Regions from separate parts of the Homo sapiens genome. Here regions 2 and 3 are each linked to region 1. The links are contacts of gene promoters, found by promoter capture Hi-C in human tissues and cell types (Jung and others, 2019). All regions are on one chromosome and are shown on one strand. The core of a region is centred on a gene start or on the middle of the fragment in contact, and the rest is flanking DNA. Distances in the headings are between cores, read along the strand shown.

The links. The method cuts DNA at HindIII sites, captures the fragments that hold promoters and counts their contacts. A contact is called where the count stands out against the background at its distance.
Region 2: a contact is called between a fragment that was not itself captured here and the fragment with the promoter of INSM1 in region 1, in 1 of the 25 tissues and cell types used here (spleen).
Region 3: a fragment that was not itself captured here is called in contact with the fragment with the promoter of INSM1 in region 1 in 4 of the 25 tissues and cell types used here (H1 embryonic stem cells, dorsolateral prefrontal cortex, hippocampus and 1 more).

The regions. Positions count from the first base shown.
Region 1 is chr20:20,366,304-20,370,950 of GRCh38, reverse strand. It overlaps INSM1 (INSM transcriptional repressor 1), which reads right to left and starts at 2,847. Exons shown (of 1, transcript NM_002196.3): 1 at 2-2,847. The coding sequence starts at 2,683. The coding sequence ends at 1,151. RefSeq lists an enhancer at 2,984-3,754. The HindIII fragment of the contact is 4,823 bases long and covers 447-4,647 here.
Region 2 is chr20:20,308,785-20,313,431 of GRCh38, reverse strand. All of the region lies in intron 25 of CFAP61 (cilia and flagella associated protein 61), which reads right to left. Among named protein-coding and RNA genes, the nearest start is that of CFAP61-AS1, 43 kb to the right of the region's middle. The HindIII fragment of the contact is 6,749 bases long and covers 1-4,647 here.
Region 3 is chr20:20,407,064-20,411,710 of GRCh38, reverse strand. The region is part of intron 38 of RALGAPA2 (Ral GTPase activating protein catalytic subunit alpha 2); the gene reads left to right. Among named protein-coding and RNA genes, the nearest start is that of INSM1, 41 kb to the right of the region's middle. RefSeq lists an enhancer at 500-1,134. The HindIII fragment of the contact is 3,302 bases long and covers 1,138-4,439 here.

The DNA of each region.
Region 1 (4,647 bases), core at 1,598-4,097:
CTTTGACTTTGAAAATATTTTATTTGAATAGTAAATAGTTATACAGTTGAAACAGTTCTATTGAAGCTTTCTATAAATAGCTAACAATTAAGAAAATAATGTATGTAGAAAAGAGATTGCATTTAAAAGTAAGAGCTGTCGGTTGTACAAGGGCCCTGGGGACCCTCGAAGCAGAATAAATGATAGGTTGTCTGTAATTCACTCAGATAGGTATAAAAGTTAAAACTTTAAGCAGATCCCTTTAGAAAAAGGCTCTCTTCTAAAACGCACAGTGGAATGTCAAGAGTGGCAGGGTGGGGAGGGGGCAGCGCGCCAAAAAAATCTGCAATCAAATAATATCATAATCTTCATAATTAATATAAATAAATAAAGAATAAATAACAATTACTCATAAATCAACATATACATTTAGAGGGAACTGATAGTCCTACCTCAACAAAGATGATCAAACCAAAAAGTCTTACGTGAAACACTGAGGCAGTTACTACAGCATCTTCGGAACACTCCCTTCCCTCCCCCCACAAAACAATCCCAGACAACAGTTCAAGGCATTTGTGGCTATACTAAAGAAAACTCTTTTTTAAGCAATTTGATTTGTTCACATACAAAAAGGTAAAGCCAGACTCCAGCAGTTCACAAGCCATAATAAAGCTAATCGTGTGGGAAGTTCAATTTACAGCCTGTGAAATATAAAGGCATTTATTCCTCAAGATTCACCCAAAACAACCCGTACGCTACATACATAGAGAGCAGAGATTGGTAGGCGAGGCGAGACCAGACCGCATTTCTAGACCATGAACACAGCGAATACTAGCAAGAAAAAAAGCTTCTCCCCGCCAAGGGGAGGCTTCCAACCACGAGACAAACGCGTACAGCTTTTCTCCCTTGTACAGAAAGAGACTGACTCCTGTTGCGCCATGGGGGAGGCGGAGGGACACAACGTAAAAGTGGGGGTTCCAAAAGGAGTCAAAAGGAGAGTATGGGGTTACCGTCACGCCACACCGAGAGAAGCGGAGACGACACTTTCACCCGGTGGGGGCGGGGGCGAGGCTCCCCCAGCGCGGACTCGGGTTCGGGGAGTGCAGGGCGCACTCTCTTTGTGGGTCTCCAAGCGAAGGCACAGTTCGGGGGCCGGGGTGGAGGGCGCGCTCTAGCAGGCCGGGCGCACGGGCACCTGCAGGAGGATCACCTGTCTGTTTTCGGATGGGTGGCACTTGTTGATGTGCCGCGTAAGGCCGGGCGAGCTGTAGAAGGTGGCCGGGCAGTACTTGCAGGGGAACACCTGGGCGGCGTGCAGCAGGCGCAGGTGGCGCTCCTGAGCGCCCTTGCTGGCGAACGACTCTCCGCACACTGGGCACAGGTGGCACTCGGCGGACGCACTCAGGCCCAGCACGCCGGCCCCCTCGCCGTCGCCGGCCGCCTCCTGGGGCGCCTTCTCGTCGGGCCCGGGGTACAAGGCCAGTAGGTCCTCGGCCGGGGGCGCTAGCGGCGCGCCCTTGGCCTGCAGCGCCTGGTGGTGCGCCAGCAGGTGCTTGCGTAGGTAGGCCTGGCGGCGGAACTTCTTGGCGCAGTGATGGCACTCGTAGAGCCCGTCCTCGGAGCCCGACTCGGACACGCCGCCGGGGCTCGGCGTGTCCCGGTCGCTGCCGCCGCCGGGTGCCTCCCGCGCCTCAGCCCTGGCTGCTGCTTCTGGCTCCGGCGCGCGGGCGGCGGCGGGCGCGGGCCGCGGTTTGTGCCAGCGGCGGTGCGAGGCCAGGTTGGCCGGGCAGCTGAAGACCTTGGCGCACTCGGGACAGCGGTACTCCACACGCACGATGCGCGAGCATTTGTGCTGCGCCAGCGCGAACGGGTCGGCGTACTCCTCCTTGCACAGCTGGCAGATGAACTCGCCCAGCGGCCGCGCCGCGCCCCCCGCGCGGCCCCGCGGCGCCTCCACCGGGCCCTCCTTGATCTTGAGCCCCAGCACGGGCGACGTGGTCACCTCGTCCTCGAAGTGCAGCTTGCGGATGGCCTTGGGCTTCTTGGCGCCCGGGGCCTTGACTGCCTTGGCGGGCGGCTCCGCGGCGGTAGGGGGCGGGGGCCGCTTTCCCGGGGGCCGCAGGGCGGCGGCAGGGGGCAGTGGGGGGCCGGGGCCCGGGCCGCGGGCCGCCTCGGCGCCAGCCGAGAACGCCGTGCCCATCTTGAGCTCGGCGGGCGCGAAGAGCAGCGGGTCGCCGCCGCAGGTGCCGCCTCCGCCAGCTCCGCTCGCGCCGCCGCCGCCGCCCCCTCCGAGCAGCGCGGCGGGCGTGGGGAAGGACTCGGCCGAGACCGGCGAGCCCAGGTTGAAGCTGCGTTCGAAGTACTTGTGCTTCTCGTGCTCGCGGCTCACGGGCCGCGTGGGACTGTAGAGCGGCGCGGGGTGCGCAGCCTCGGGGTTGCCGAAGTGCGCGGCCCGCGGGCCCTGCGGGGGTGGCTGCGGCCCAGGCGCGCAGGCAAGCGCGGCGGCGAGCGCTGCATGGGCGCGCTCCGCGGGCGGCGGCGGCGGCAGCGGCCCGGGGACCGGGCTCGGCGCCGGGGGCTCGGCGCGGGCGCCCCCGCAGCTGGGCGAGAGCAGCAGTGCGCGGTCGCCGTCCTCGCCGCCGCGGACCCGGTAGGAAACGGGCGTGGACTTCTTGCTGCGCTTCACCAGGAAGCCGCGGGGCATGTTGGCGCGGCCCGAGGGCACGGCACTGGCTCGGTCCCCCCTCCGCGCTCGGCCCCGGCGGCCCTCAGTGCCCCCGGCCCATTGCCCGGGCGCGGCGGCTGCGGGACTCGCGTGGCGCCGGCGACGGCTCGGCCCAGCTCTGCGCCCTGCACGCGCGTCCCTGTCCCCGGGCCCGGCAGCCGCTCCCTTTTAACGGGGGGAGGGGGCCATTGTTCTCGCCTCCCGCTTCCCCTGGAGCCAATCAGCGCGTCCGCAGCTCCTCAGCCTGGCAGGGTGGGAGGGCGATGGGGCGGCCAAAAGGGGGCCGGGACTCGGGGGTCGCCCGGTAGGTGCGGCAGATGTACCTGAGGGCGCGGGGCCCCCGCGCGCGCCCCTGGTCGCCCCGCCCGGCGCCGCCGCCCCGCCCGGTCCAGGCACACGCCCGGCCCCGCCTCCCTTCACGGTCTGCTGCTTCTCTATGGGGAGGCGCACGTGCCTGGGCTTTGTGTCTCTCCTCCGGGGGGCGCGGAGCCGCCAAATGGGCCCGTCCATCAGCGCGACAATGCACGCCCCCCTCCCGCGCGGGGATTACCCGCGGGTCGCTAGCAAAATAGCAACAAAGGAGAAGAATGGCCCCAAATATGTCAGGAGGGTTCAATCCGCGAGCCGGAGCCGAGGGGGAAGTTGTGCGCGCTGATTGGGTGGGGGCGGGGGCGCGCCGGGGCGGTGCGGGGGAGATCGTTGCGGAGGCGCAGTGGCTCCGCGTGGTGTTTGGGAAATAAACAAGAATCCGAGAGAGCAGCAGGGTCCGGACGGCCTCCGCCCGGACCTTGGACGGATGGGCCGCTGGACCCAAGAGGCCAAGCAAAAGGGTTCCCCGGGGTTCCAAGTGTGGACAGGGGGCCCGGCCTTCTGGCAGTGGCCGAGGGCGATGTTTGTGCTCGCAGCCTCCGCGCGCCCACGGGGCTAGAGAAGGTTTCTTTCGAGTTTGAGAAGGAATTGGCACGGCCTTCTCAGTCTCCCGAAAGCGCGGGATTGGAGCGCGGGCGGGCTGGGCTGGGTTCCCAGAGGAACGTGAATTTCTGAACTTTTGGGTTCTTGGAGGCTTGGGAATGGCATCTTTGGCGGGGCCCGACCCAGGCCGCCCGGAGCTTCCGCGTGGTCCAAGGCTCGGTTAATCCGGGTCGAGTTGGCCGAAGCCCGAAACGCGCGGTCGGCCTCGTGCGCCCCAGTGAAGTTGGCTTTCTCCTCCCCGCGCGGCCTCATGCATTTTCATTCCGAGCGGGCATTTTGTTTGCCGGTTGACATCAGATGCTAAATCAAGGGCTCCAATCAAGGCGCTGCGAAATAAAGGGGCTGCCTGTCTGGGCGCAGCCCCCACGGAGCCGTGCCCCCTTCACCTTTGTGAAGGAAATTAACCTCCTGCTATTGAGCTCCGGTCGCGGCCAATCTGGACGCAAAAGAGACGCGTGCTGGACGGGGGGAGGGGGGGCAATCTGTACTCTGAGGCAGGCTGAGGCCTCCGAGAGGACAAGCCGCCTCCCCTGTGCCACCAGGAAGAGACAACAGCGAAGATTCCCCCCGCCCCCACCCCCACCCCCACCTCCGCTGCCGTTCCGTTTGGACCCAGACTGGGCCGCCTGCCTCCATCCTCTGTCCAGCCCAGCCCCGAGGAAACACAAAAGGCAGAATCTTCGGGGGACAGGGCAGAGAACCCCACGAGTGCGTAGTGGCCCTGATCGTCCAACACTGGGGAACAAATAGCCAAGCCACATAAAATGTCATATGCTGTGAGGAAAATGTCACTTTATTGAAAGAGAAGGAAACATTTTTCTGCAAAGCTTTGTATACCAGACAGATTTTGCTGAGTTTTACTTACGCTTAATTCCACTGAAGGTATTTAATTGTTTTGGATTTTCCCTCTGAAAATACCCTGGCGTAGAAATTAAACATGTAAAAATAGAGTCCACATGAGTCATAAGTTG
Region 2 (4,647 bases), core at 1,062-3,561, 57 kb after region 1:
GCGGGGATATAAAGAAGCAACAAACTTGGGGTGTAAATCTCTTAGCCTGCTCAGGCTGACATAACAAAATGCTATAGATTGGGTGGCTTAAACAACAGAAATGTATTTCTCACTCTTCTGGAGGCTGAAAGTCCAAGATCAAGGTGATAACATAGTTAGGTTCTGGTGAGGGCTCTCTTTCTAGTTTGTAGATGGCCACCTTCCTGCTGTGTCCTCACATGACAGAGAGAGAGATAGAGAGAGAATCAGAGACAGAGAGAGAGTGACATCTGTCTCTTTCTCTCCTAAGAGTCCCATCCTTATGATCTCATTAAATCTTAATTACCTTCTAAAGACTGTATGTCCAGATACAGTCACATAGGGGGTTAGAGCTTCAACATATACATTTGGTGAGAGGACATAATTCAGTCCACAGCATTGGGGCTATACGCAAGGCTATCAGTTGGAAGACAGTAAGGCAATAGAGAAATTAAATAGTTAAATAATGAGATACAGAATAACTCAAGAAATGTTGGTTGGCATGGGTAGGATGGTGTATGTAATATGGGGGGGTATGCCATGTTTATTAGTCCGGAGCTGTTACATAATATATAATCAATGCATTCTAAAATTTGAAAAAATAATGGTACTTTAACAATGTTGCTCCACTGTTTTCTGGCTTGCATTGCTTCTGATGAGAAATCTGTTGTCATTTTCATCTTATTCGTCTGTAAAGAATGTGCCCGTGTCTTTTGTTGCTTTTAAGACTTTCTCTTTATTGTGGGTTTTGAGTAGTTTGATTATGATATGCCTTGGCATAGTTTTCTTCATTTTTTTTTATGCTTGAGATTCACTGAGCTTCTCAGATTTGTGAGTTTTCATCAAATTTGGAAAAATTTTGGTCGTTATTTCTTTAGGCCACTTGAAGTTGTCCCATTCCTCACTGATACCCTGTTCATGGTTTTATATTCTTTTTCCTCTGTGTGTTTTATTTTGGGCAGTTTCAATTGTTATGTCTTCAAGTTCACTTACCCTTTTCCCAGCGAGGTCTAATCTGCAACTAAGCCCATCCAGGGTAGTTCTTGTCTCAGACATTGTAGTTTTCATCTCTAAAAGTTTGATTTGGGTCTTTTATGTGTTTTCCACATCTTAACTTTTTAATCACATGGAATGCAGTTATAGTAACAGTTATAATAGCTGTTTCAACATACTTGTCTGCTAATTCTAACATCTGAGTCAGTTCTGGGTTGGTTTTGTTGATTGATTTTTCTCCTCATTATGGGTTGTATTTTCTTGTTTCTTTGCCTTCTCAGTAATTTTTTGATTAGGTATCAGAAATTGTATCATTTTGTTAGGTGTGGAAATTTTCAGTATTCCTATAAACACTCTTAAACTTGTTTTCAGATGTAGATAAGTTACTTGGAAAGCATTTGATACATTCATGTCTTGCTTTCAAGATTTATTAAGTCGGACTGCAGCAATGTTTGGTTTAGGACTAATTATTCCCTGCTACTGAGATGAGTCCCTTTTGTGTACCCTACCTATTGCCTCATTAATCTTAAAGTTCTCAAGTCTGGCTGGTGGGAACAGGCAGCGTTCCCAGCCTTGTGTGAGTATTAGACACTGTCATGCTTTTTCTAATCCTTTAGAGTGGTTCTTTCCCCTGTCTTGGGCAGTTTCCTTGCCCACATGGACTGACCAGTACTCAACTGAATGCTCCCAGGGGAGGCTTCTGCACATCTCCAAGCTTCTCTCTCTGTGCAACCTTCTCCTCTCCAGTACTCTGTCCTGACAACTCCACCTGCCTTGGTCTCCCCGGACCCTCAGCTCCCTCTCCCTCTGTCCTGACAACTCCACCTGCCTTGGTCTCCCCGGACTCTCGGCTCCCTCTCCTCCACTCAGGACTCTGCATGGGCTCTGCTTCCCCTTGCTGTGGCCTGGGAACTCTCTCAAGGCCGTCAGCTGGATCAACCACAGGGTTCACCTTCTTTGTTTCCCATCTCTCAAAGATCACAGTCCTTCATTGCCTGATGTCTAATATCTTTTTTAAAAATTTGTTTCTTACATTTTGGCAGCTATTTAGTTGTTTCATGTGGGAGGGTAAGTCTGGTTCCTCCCAAAATTTGAAAAAAGTTATAGAATTCCACAACATCTGCTCCTAGGATTTTGGATAAGGGTTTTGTGGACCTGTATATTATTAGAACCATCATCCTCACTGGTAGTAGATATAAATACAAACTCCAGAGTCTTCTTGATAGTTTTGCATTTTGTGGGGGCTGACTTCTGGTCAAGGTTGATTAGTTAGCTATGAGAGATACTGTAGACTGTTTCAGCCAGCCACACTCAAGATACTGTGTAGCATGATTTAGCCAAAATATCACAGGCCGGGAAGGGAAAGACTACAATTTCCAGACTCATGTCCAGTGTAGGTTCTACATGGGACTGAGTTTCATCCAAAGAGACAGCCCTGTGCAGGACGTGGACGATGGACATGAACACCATGAGGTGGAGATTCTGCCTCCACTCTATAAAACACCCTGAGGAGGGACTCTCCCTCACTCCATGGAACACCCTGAGGAGGTGCTTCCACTGCATTTCTTGCTTTTGCTGGCAAGCCTGGCTGTGGCAGTATTTGGTGTCAGCTGTAGCAGAAGGGGGCAGAAATCAGGGCTTAGTGTACCCATTTTGCTGGTGTGGATTTTGCCAGAGAGGATTGGTCATGGAGCTGGCAACTTTTGTGGCAGTTTCTCAGTTCCACAAATTCCTCACTGTGGCAGAGATTGGCTAGGTCTGCGGAGCCATTTTCTGAATTTTTCGTGGAAGGCAGTCTAAAGCCTGCTCCTCCAGCCCATTGAAGGAATTGTATAAAGCACCCATAACTGGCAGTATATTGCTTTCTGTTTAAACCAGCTAGAGAGGATTCTGCTGTCTGCAGTGGAACCTTAGCTGAGAGACGAACCATGGTACTTACAGTGTGGCTGAGGAAGAGGAGATGATCTGGCCCTGCCCTTTCCTGGTTCATGTGTGTCTGCTTTGCCAGGCTTTGCATTCTGTAGTTTCTTTTGAACAATCCGTTAAATGCTCATGTCAATTTTGTGGAGGGTTAGTTTAGTTAAAACCAGAACCAGATACACAAAAGCTGCAGTAGGTTCCAAAGTTAACTAATAAGGGCTGGGTGTGGTGGTAGTCCCAGCACTCTGGGAGGCTGAGGCAGGTGGATCATCTGAGATCAGGAGTTTGAGACCAGTCTGGGCAACATGGTGAAACCCCGTCTCTACTAAAAATACAAAAATTAGCAGGGTGTGGTAGCACATGCCTGCTACCCAGCTACTCAGGAGACTGAGGCAGGAGAATCACTTGAACCAGGGAGGTGGAGGTTGCAGTGAGCTGAGATTGTGTCATTGTGCTCCAGCCTGGGTGACAGAGCGAGACTCCATCTCAAAAAACAAAAACAAAAACAAAGTTAATTAATAAGGTTGACCCCTCCAAGCTGTGACACTGTCCCATTATGGTGTGTTGAGGCCATGTAGAATGCACAGCTGTCTTCCATCTGACCCAAGAGGGCACCCATGCGTGTGCTTTGAATACTAATAAAACATGATTTCTGTTTTTTTTTTAAAGATAAAATTATAAACAGAAGTTCTAATATTTTCTTCCTCCACACATGAATTATCCTGGGCATCTTCTGAGGTATTTTATCAGAGAGCAAAATTATTCTCCTGTCCCAAACATAATTTTTTTTTTGGCCAATCTTCTTATAATAGGTAAATGATGAGTCAAACACAACAACTGCTTTTACTAAAGAATGGTCATTGCATGATGGCAAACCTACTCCTATTTGTCCTGTATGAAGGAAACTTGACAGAAAGTCAGGAAACTCTGGTTCTGGTCCTATTGGTGCCACTGTCTTGGTTGTGGCACGTGGAAAGCCCGGCCACTCTGGTTCTCCCTTGCCTCACCTGTACGAGACAGGTGTGCGGGGCTGCAGTTAGGGTCTGCCTGGCACCCAGGAAGGAGAGCTGTGCTGTCTGCAAGCTTGCTGCAGGTCTTATTTCTAGGAGGAAATCGCAGTTCCCCTTCAATTCTTTTCATTTCATAGTGCAATCATCTAAAATAGGTTCTGGGTGGTGGGATTAGGTATAGATTTTATATTCTACTCGGCTTTTGAAATATTTTTCTGCATTTTCTGTAATAAACACATATTGCTTTTGGAGTGGAAATTTTTAAAAATTAAACAAATATGCTTAAATAACCCTCAAAAAGAAACCTATAAAGACTCAGGTGTAGGAGGGAAAGAAGGAGAATGCTGCACCTGTGAATCCCTACTGCCCAGGTGGCTTCAAAGCGTCTCTTTGCAATTGTTAGTTTGCCATAAAAAATTTAGGCAGGCAGGCCAGTTCCTTCTCGTGGCTCAGTAGAATGAGAACATGATTTCTGAAATGCATTTATTTTCACAGTTCCAACAACAGTAAAACAACTCCGTTGTTTCTTGGAGTTCGGCAAAGAGGTATTTATATTAAAGCAGCTTAGTAGCCTTAAAGATAACCACGGCTCATCAGCTATTATTTTAAACTCATAAGTAATAACCTTCAACCACATGCTGCCAGATGGGTATGTAATGAAATGGAGGAAGAAAATCTATAAAGGACTTTAACTCCTGCTGTACAA
Region 3 (4,647 bases), core at 1,539-4,038, 41 kb before region 1:
GATGCCCGAATCAGTGCTTACTTATCAAAAAAGAGTTCCTCACAGTGGAAGCCGTTGCTACTAATGCTAAATGGGGATTATGCTGCCGAGATTCGAAGGTCAGGGATTAATGCAGGAGACATGGAAGGACAGTGTCCCGGGGTCCATCATTACAGCAGTGCAGTGTGCGTGTCTCTCTGGAGTGGTTTGTGTCATGTGGACAAGCCGCCGACCGGAGCAGCACCTGGTGTGGAACCCGTTTAGAAACTAGCTTACAATAATTTTCATTTATTAGGGCCAGTGGAAAATTGTGAAAGTTTCCATAGATTTCCTTGTTTTTAGGTTTTTATTCTTTTTATATTTCCAGTTTGGGGGGAAAAATACATGTATTGCCACTTAAACAGATTATGTGATTACTGTGTGTTTCTTTCAAATAATAGAATTATTACTTGTAAATTTCTGCATATAATTACAGATTAATTGCCTTTCAGAGAATAAATGGGATATTTAGCCAATGCATGTTGAGATTCTCAGTGAGGAGCTTCCTTCTTCTTCCACTGCTTTAAATGAAACTGTTAGAGTGCTTAATAGATTTCTAACCTGTGTCAATTGTCTCTGAACACTGCCTTACTTCTCCTATTCTGACTTGTTAACAAATATCTTATACACAAAGTGAAAAAAAATTAAATCCAGTGAAATAAATCACTTACAAATAAAATCAGCCATGCATCATTGTTTAACATCGCTGGCCTCAATCCTTGCCTCTCAGAGCTTTGTTGGGAGATAAGAGGGAGAGGCACGCACTTGCGCAGGGAGCCAGGAGCAGCAGGCAGAAGGCTTGGGAGATAAGCAGGCTGGCAGAGGTGCAGGAGCAGCGTGATTTGCATAATCACGCCTCTGCTTCCTGGTGAGGCGTCAAGGAACACTGGGATGGCCTCTATTGATCTTTGTTGAACTGGAATACTAAGCAACATGAGAAAAGCTTATAACTTAAAGCTTTGATTAATGTTTCTTACATTAAAAAAGTGGAACAGCTGTGAATTGAATTCTTTTATACACTCTGCCAACATTCTATCTAAGACAAAAACAAATTCGTTTCAAGGGAAATGAAGATTTCATACTCGGTCTGGCTAGAGATTTTAAATCGTTTCTAATTTTTCAGTGAAAGAACATGAGGGATCTGTAGCAAAGCTAATTTTAAAAAGATCTCATTCAGCTTTTTCCCACCCTCATGAGATTATTCCCCTCTTCGTGAGGACTTGATTTTTCAGTGCAGGTTGTTTTTTGTTTTTTGTTTGTTTGTTTAACTCTTGAGAAAGCTTTTTACTTCTTAAAATTAAACACGTAAATAATAACTAGATGTTTTCATTCCTTAACTGTTACATTCTTAAGATTATTAAGATATTATCAAAATGAATAATGATGGACTTTGTTTTCTATGTATATTTTAGCCTCTGTATAAACTAATTTGATCTTTTCCAAACATCCATAATTATTTAAACCAATAGAAATGAGTGAGATTCTAGGAGCAATTTGAGTTTTTAAGAACTCTACTTGGAGAGGATTGTCAATAGGCTTCTTCAAGAACGTCATATTTTTGAAAATTGCTTAGCAGAATGAAGATTCTGACAGCATGTGAGGGTGGGCATTGGAACTCTTCTAAAAGGAACGTGAAACCAAACATGGAATATCAAGACAAATGCTACTCCCTCCGCTTTTCAAATTATTAACATCAGTATTACATTTCATAGTGTTCATGGTTTAAGGAATTCAGTGTTGAGTGGGAAACATTTTTATACGTCTATCATGCCTATCCTTAAGTGTGATTTTTAAGTCTAGGCATAATGTTCTGTTTTAATTCTTTGCATATCTTCTCATAACGCTGAGTAGGAATGAACTAGATATAATCTTGATTTGAACTGAAATGTGGGGCAGTACAATGAGGACAGAGCATTTCAGCACCATAGACAAGCACGTTTTCGGAAGCATCTTCTAGCTTACATACTGGCTTCGCTTTTGAGGAATCCCTGTCCACTATCTGTTACTACTTCTACAGATGAAAACATTTGTCATTTGTTTACACTGTTATGTTCTTGGGACAAGGGCGATCAAACCCAGATGAGCCAGCCAGCTTAAACTAAGAAATTGAGGTGAAGTCTGTTCTTCCAAGCAACAAGCCAACTGGAAAAATTGACCCTGAGCGGCTTAAGCTCCCACAGTGCACTTAGGACCCAATCAGACCATCTCTGGCCCTCAGTGTCATCAAAGCAGGGCCTTGGGCTTGGGCTCACATGCGTATGCACAATCTGAGGAATTAGGGGCTCCTAGGTTTTCTTTGTATCCTCACCACCAGGACTTTATTATTAATGAAGAGGGAGCATCACCTGAACACTGCATTCATTCTGCACTGTATTGGTAGCAGCAAGCCAGAAAGCAGCATGCAGCCCCCACTTCTAGAGGGAAAGCCCCAAAATCAGCCTTTAAGTCTGAAGTAAAAGTGGGAGATGCACTCGGTGGGAATGGCCTGTGCCTGAAGCTTCCACTGTTGGAAAATGCCCTCTGCTTCTGACTCTCCCCATCCAGGTGCTGTTACCCATCCGCCCAACAAGCCCTGCGGGGGTGGGTTGGCCAGGTGAACAGGCTTGCGTTCAGGATGCGCCGTCAACCACACATGGTGGTGTAGCTGCTAATATATGAGCGCTCGGCATTTTTCAAAGAGCTTTCAAAACAAAATCTATTTTCCTAATGAGAAAATATTTTTAAAGACCATCGTATCTACCTTGTATCTATTCCATCCATTACTTGTATTGATAACACCTGACATGTAAAGATATTTCAACTACTTTTTTACCTAGCACTATAGTTTACCTTCCTTTTTTGACCAGCATTAAATAATCTAAAATGTAGCCAGTATTAAAATATTGGTTGCAATTAACATATATATGTTTTATGTATAAATACATTTATATACACATATACATTTCTCTCTCACACACACACACATATTGGGGTGGGGGACTAAATTTGTGCTTTCAATCATATCACCAAGAAAGAGGGACCGGCAGAGAGGCCTTGAAAGGGTTAACTGGAATGGGCACCCTCGACTGCTGGGAGGGACTGATGTAATCACTGCAGCTCACAGCCAAGTGCATCTGTTCACCATGAGGTCATTCTTCTGCATGCTAATGATTTGGAAAATCAAGTCTAGTGTTTGACATTATCAGAAAAGATATAAATAGTGTAAATCTTTGCTTTTTAGAAGTTGCTCTTATAAAAGAGAAAAAAAGGAACTTTACATTGGACCTGAGATTTTTTTCAGAACTGCCTTAAAGATTGTGTCTGGATCTAAAAATTTTGGAGGAATCCACTTGTGTCTGTTGATCAATCAATCCCCAGATCACTATTACGGTCACAGCTAGCAATCTGGTAGCCAAGGGCTACAGGTATGTCTCATTTAATATCTAATTTTAAGAATTTCCAAGTGCCTTTGTCAGAAGTTGATAGATTTTTCTCAAAGAATGTTCAAAACCAAGTTAAATGAGTGGTTCTTCTCGGAATACCCAAACTGACTTGTGTTTGCTGAAGATGCCAATACTACGTATGGTTCCTTTCTGCTTCAATATTGCTATAGAGAGCCAGCAGAGGGAGCACAGGTCTTTGTTTATTTGTTAGCCCTGCATAAACACAGCATTTGATTTCTCCAAGATATGGTCAGAAATACTTCCTCCTTTATGATAGGCTGGATTGTCAAGGCTCCAGGATTTAGAACAAGTGGGAGAAAATTCCTCACTATGCTTCATCAGAGTCTGCCACTTTTAATGTAGGTCGTATTTGGAGCTTAAACCAGATTAGTCTGAGTCGGTCTTAGGATGCCACTGCCATTCCTGCTACTGCACAAAACTGCAAACTTTCATCTTTCACACAATTGCTTGGATGCCCTCGTGGAAAGGGTTATTATTGCCACTTACCTAATGAAAAAGACTTCTGTAGCTTTTCTTCTACAACACAGTCGTTATGTTAAGTTTGCAGAACCTTTGCCAGAAGACTCTGCCTGGTGTCACTGAGTCATTTTGGTGGCCAATAAAATCTTCTCCTAAAACTGCAGATGGAGGCACTTATGTTACACATTCGCCCCAAAGCAAATCTGAGATGTAGACACTACACAAACTCCTCTTAGAACTCACCAGCCTTTGCCCAGAGGGATATGGCTACACCCAGCTTTTGCTTGCTAAGGCCTCCGCGCCATATGCAGCTCGTCATTCCGCATGCAGTCCTGACAGGCAGTCTTCCTTGGCCGTTTCACTGGGCAGTTAATAATCAAGTTAATTCCCAGAAACAGCACAAGTAAATCCTAACCCAAACCACCAAAAAGAGTTTCCCCGCTCATTGAAAGGATAGTCATGTGACAGACTCATCACATTCATATTCATTCCCTCCCTGTTAAAGTGGTCTTAATACGGTTTTAATTAATAGTGCTTCTTTTGAATTGTATGTGTTCAGCTTCCCCATAACTTTGCTGAAGCCAGCAAAGAACATCATAGAATGTTGAACTAGAAGGGACTTCAGGAAAGATCATGTCTAACCCTGTCACATTAATTTGGAGCAAGCTGAAGACCAACCCAGGAAGGGACCACCGAAGGTCATGGGCAAGTTGGAATCAGTGCCAAC